Regions from separate parts of the Homo sapiens genome. Here region 2 is linked to region 1. The links are contacts of gene promoters, found by promoter capture Hi-C in human tissues and cell types (Jung and others, 2019). All regions are on one chromosome and are shown on one strand. The core of a region is centred on a gene start or on the middle of the fragment in contact, and the rest is flanking DNA. Distances in the headings are between cores, read along the strand shown.

Evidence for each region. Contacts are between HindIII fragments. The study calls those that stand out against the background at their distance.
Region 2: the fragment with the promoter of ATG4D here is called in contact with the fragment with the promoter of TYK2 in region 1 in 1 of the 25 tissues and cell types used here (adrenal gland).

What each region holds. Positions count from the first base shown.
Region 1 is chr19:10,379,211-10,381,858 of GRCh38, reverse strand. TYK2 (tyrosine kinase 2) reads left to right here and starts at 1,287. Exons shown (of 25, transcript NM_003331.5): 1 at 1,287-1,479; 2 at 2,080-2,244. RefSeq lists enhancers at 658-1,321, 1,230-1,389. The HindIII fragment of the contact is 20,387 bases long and covers 1-2,648 here.
Region 2 is chr19:10,542,584-10,545,231 of GRCh38, reverse strand. It overlaps ATG4D (autophagy related 4D cysteine peptidase), which reads right to left and starts at 1,328. Exons shown (of 10, transcript NM_032885.6): 1 at 907-1,328; 2 at 366-449; 3 at 102-275. The coding sequence starts at 1,141. RefSeq lists an enhancer at 342-937 and silencers at 983-1,162, 1,213-1,552, 1,563-1,612. The HindIII fragment of the contact is 15,918 bases long and covers 1-2,648 here.

The sequences.
Region 1 (2,648 bases), core at 38-2,537:
GCCAGACCCCATCTCTACAAAAATTTAAAAATTAGCCACAAAATTTAAAAATTAACAACAAAAGGGCCGGGTGCGGTGGCTCACGCCTGTAATCCCAGCGCTTTGGGAGGGTGGATCACGAGGTCAGGAGTTCGAGACCAGCCTGGCCAAGATGGTGAAATCCCATCTCTACTAAAAATACAAAAATTAGCCGGGCGTGGTGGCGGGCGCCTGTTGTCCCAGCTACCCAGGAGGCTGAGGCAGGAGAATCGCTTGAATCCGGGAGTCTGAGGTTGCAGTGAGCCGAGATCGCAGCATTGCACTCCAGCCTGGGCGACAAGAGCGAAACTCCATCTTAAAAAAAAAAAAAAAAAAAAGTGGAAGATGAGGAAGTTGATCAGACATCAAGGATGAGCGGATGACTTAATAGGCTTCTTTGCTAAGACTTGGCTGGGCAGGTGAAAGACAAAGTCGAGGAGTGGTTATGGTGTGGCACAGAAGAAGGGTCAGAGGACGGTCTTTGTTACCTCTTCATGCCTGAGTTTCTTCCTCTGTGAAATGGGGATAATAAGAGCCGCCATACAGGGAATTGCTGCTAGGATCAAATGAGATAATGTATGTGAAACGCTCTGGCTGTAGGCTTCTCAGCAAATGGGCACGACTTGCGGAGTGGGGATTTGAATTCACGTCTGGCGGGATGTCCAAGCTGCTACCCTGACCGCTAGGGAGCTTCAGAGGACAGGGCTGCAGGTGATCAGGAAGAGGACTGGGGCAGGTGGGCGAGGAATGCCTCCCAGGAGTGAAGGAGGGGGAATTCTAGTCAGCAGGATGGAGTCGGCCAGGTAGAAACGAGGGAAAGGAGACAGGACCGGATGGAACGGGGAAGCCAAAGGGCAGGGCGTCGGAGGGTTGAATGGTGGCCGGTGCAGCTTTGAACACCGAGGTGAGGACATGCAGCTGTGTCCTAGGGTCAGGACCGTACACGCCTGACCCAATTCCACAGCACGGAGGGGAACTCCAGGATCCGGCCGCGTTGCCCACACACTTCGCTCTCCCTCCCGCCTCTCGCAAGCCCCTCCCCCGTCTCCGTCCACCGAGTGCCAGCCAATAGCAGAAGCGACAGCGCATCTGGGTGCCGACTCAGCCAATCGCGGCTGAGTGACGAATGAGCCCCAGGACCAATGAGAGTGCCGCCACCATGGCAAAAAAAAAAAAATCCAATGGTGACGAGCAGGGAGAACAGAGCAGCTGCCAATGGGCGTGTGCGTTTCAGGCGGCCAATGGGAGGAGGCGTCTCGGCGGGGGACAAGCAGTAGCTACCCGCGGGAGCGGGGAGGGGTCCGGGTTCGAGCTTGTGTTCCCCCGGAAGGGTGAGTCTGGACGCGGGCGCGGAAGGAGCGCGGCCGGAGGTCCTCAGGAAGAAGCCGCGGGGACTGGCTGCGCTTGACAGGCTGCACTTGGATGGGAGCACCTGGTGCCTCGGGACTGCTCCGATGCCCGGTGGGTGCACATCCCAGTTCCCGCCGTTGCCGGCCGGGTTTAGAGGTTTTGGGGGGAGGACATGGGGGCGTGCAGCCTTCCCAGTTGCAAACTTCACTCCGACCCTGTCTTCAAAGCTGGGTCTGGGTCCAGTGGGGACGAGAAAGGAGGAAGGAGGAAGTAGGCTCCGCGAAAGCCCCATCCCCGGGATCTCATCTATAACATGAATAGGTATTAATGGCAAAGGCTAATTAAGCGCTTACTGTATACCAGGCACTTTCTCTGCCTCCTCGCGTTAAATCCTCCCAGCAGCCTTTTGAGGTAGACACTGTTACATGCCCATTTTCCAGATGAGGAAACCAGCAACATGGGTGGAAGTGACAGCCCCTCCACTTCCATACTGGCGCCCTCAGGAGGCTCAGGCCCTGGATTGGGGGGATGGAGCTGGACATAAACTCTCCTAGGCTTTGGGGAGTCAACAGGGACTGAGGTCACTCATGGGGGTAAATGTGGGAGAGGAGAATTGTGGCCTGAAAGAGGCCATCACCACGATGAAACTAATAACAATTATGTTATTCTTGTTTTGGTCATATTTGTTCTTTTTGTGTGTGCCTGAATCAGGGTCTGTGCTGAATGTGTAATATGCGGAACTATATTGAAACATTACAACCATCTTTTGATGGCAACACCCTGAGGACCTCCCTTTTCCAGATGGGGAAACTGAGGCCCAGAATTGCTAAGTGGCTTGCTTGAGTTGACACAGGGAGCTCCAGGACTCACCCTCAGGTATGTTTGACCACATCTGCCTGTCTGGTTATTTTGGGGAGGTGTGTTAAGAGCAGATTTTTATTTTACTTTTTATTTATTTATTTATTTATTTATTTATTTATTTATTGTATTTTAGTAGAGATGGGGTTTCACCATGTTGGTCAAGATGGTCTCAATCTCCAGACCTCGTGATCTGTCCGCCTTGGCCTCCCAAAGTGCTGGGATTACAGTCATGAGCCACCGCGCCTGGCCCTTTTTATATATTTTTATTACTTATTTATTTATTTATTTATTTATATTTTTAGAGTCAGGGTCTCACTCTGTCACCCAGGCTGGAATGCAGTGGTGCGATCACTGCTCACTGCAGCCTCCAACTCCTGGGCTCAGGAGATCCTCCCACTTCAGCCTCCCGAGTAGCTTGG
Region 2 (2,648 bases), core at 79-2,578, 160 kb before region 1:
CTAACGTGACTTTGAACTCTTAGTTGGTAAGTAATTCTAATACTGCTGATATGGCAGTTGACCCTGTACTCCTAGTGCACCCCTTCCCCCCTATGGCTCACCTCTGGGCAGGAAATGCAGCAGAAGGCCCTGTGCCAGCATCATCTGGCCGCTGCGTAACATGCACCCCCAGCCACAGTCCGAGGTCAGGCAGCCCCCAGGAAGGGGCGGGAAGTCCCGGCGGTATGTGAGCCACAGGCGGGACACAAAGTCCCGCTGGAAACGCTGTATGTCACCTACAAGAGCGGGTCTGTCAGCTGCCACCAGGGACACTCCGGCGGGCGTGGAGAGGCCTCCCCCAGCCCTGGTCCCAACCACCAGCTCACCCTCGCCCTCGAAACGGTAGCGGCGGCCACAGAGGTGGATGCTGGAGATCTTGCTAAAGCTGGTCCGGCTTTTAACCACCCAACCTGGGGAGACGTAGGGGCAGCGCCCAGCGAGATGAAGCACTTGCATGACAGCAACAGCGCTTCCATTCCCCCATCTGTGAAATGGGCACGATCCTAGTTCCTATCTCCGGGGTGGCTCCGGGGATTCCGTCGGAGGTGGGGCCCCCAGTGACAGCTACAGGAGTGTCCACCATCAATTCAGGATGAAGGAAGGTAGTTCTGATTATTGTACCCATTTTACAGAGAGGGGCAAAAACGGAGGCGCCAGGAAGCAAAGGATCTTGCCCAAGGTCACACAGGGGAATGGGCGGGGCTTGAAAACACTATTGGACCTGCCACAGGTCCACCCTGGGCCGGGCAGGGAGGGGACCCACAGGTGACTCAGGACGGGAACAAGGGTGGGATAACTGGCAGGACCGGGGTCTGGTTTTCCTCAACGGCCCCCGACACCCCCACGATCTCCGGGCCCCCTCCTCACCGTACTTGACGTTGTTCCAGGCTGTCAGGAACTTGGCCTTGAACTTGTCCACTTCGTCCGGCTCACTCGGGCCAGCCCCGGGAGAGCCAAGAGCGGGGCCGCTGGCTCCGGAAGGCCCCAGGCCGTTGGGGTCTGGGCCTCTGGGACCCCGCGGCCTGCGGGCCTCGGGCCGGCGGCGCGCGTCCTCCGGGCTGCTGCTCCGGTACTGCGCGGCGGCCGGCGACACTGAGTTCATGGACGCGCCGGGAGGGCGGACCGAGGGCCCAGGTGGGGGGCTGCGGCCGCTGCCCCCCAAGGGCGACCCGCAGCCGGTTCACGGGGCCCGGGGAAGGCGCTACTCGGCCCCCGTCCCCAGGGTACCGGGCCAGGCAACAGCCGCCGCCGCTGCTACCGCAGCCATCGCCATCTTAGCGGGCCAGGACCCCGGATGACGGTGGGCGTGGCCAAGCCAGACGCCCCGCCCCGCCCTCTCCCCGCCCAGCCGCCTTTCCTGCCCCGATCCCGGGTCGCCAGGCGGGGACCTCAAACCCCGACGCCTTCCCGCGGCCTCCCCCCGCCCTCCTTATCACACCGCCAGGAGCGCGACAGCCCCTTCAGGCCCTTATCGGAGGCAGCAGAGCTGGGGAACCCCTGCCCCTGGCCCCGCCCCTAGTCCTGCCCCCCAGGGCCCAGGACTGACCTCCTGGCAGGCGCCCAGGTGAGACTGACTGCGCACCTGCAGCGCCCGCCCCGCCTCCCGAGTGCACCTGCGCGGGCTGCCGACCCAGAACCCGCCCTGGCCTGGGACCAAATCGACTAGTGTGACCTCCGGGGCAAGCCACGCCTCTCTGTGCCTCAGTTTCCTCATGTGCAAAATAGGGCTGGAATACACGCAACAACATAGACGAATCTTCATGAGAATTATGCTCAGGGAAAAAAAATCCAGGGGTAGGCAGGCGCGGGAGGGAGGGATGAATGAAGTGCTCCAGGAAAGTTTTTTTCAGTGTTTGTTTTGTCGAGACAGCATCTGGCTCTGTTGTCCAGACTGGAGTGCAGTGGCGCTTTCATAGCTCACTGCAGCCTCCAACTCTGATCCTCCAACCTCAGCCTCCAGAGTAGCTGAGACCGCAGACAGGAGCCACCATGCCTGGTTAATTTTTTAAATTTTATTTGTAGATAAGGGGTCTCGCTATGTTGTCTAGGCTGGTCTCAAACTCCTGGCTTCATGAGATCCTCCCGCCTCAGCCTCCCAAATGCTGGGATTACAGGCGTGAGCCACCACCTCAGGCAGGAAGACATTTTTTGGAGCTGTGGATAAATTCAGTATCTTAACTGTAATAGTGGCTTCACAGGTGTGAAAACTCATCAGATTGTACGCTTAAAATTTGCATGGTTTTGTATATGTCTATTATACCTCAATAAGGCTGAAAAAAAACCTCTTTGTTTTAAAAAGTAATCAGTTAACTTTTTATAGAGACAAGTTCTCTCTATGTTGCCCAGGCTGGCCTGAAACTCCTTAGCTCAAGTGATCCTCCTGCCTCAGCCTCCCAAGTAGCTGAGACTACAGGAAAATATTTTATTTTATTTTATTTTTTAATTTTTTTTCTCTAACCTTGCGAGGCCCAAACAGATTTTGGTTGTTGTTGTTGAGACAGGGTCTTGCTCTGTCATCCAGACTACAGTGCAGTGGCCTGATCATGGCTCACTGCAGTCTCAACTGCCGAGGCTTAAGCAAGTCTCCTGCCTCAGCCACCTGAGTAGCT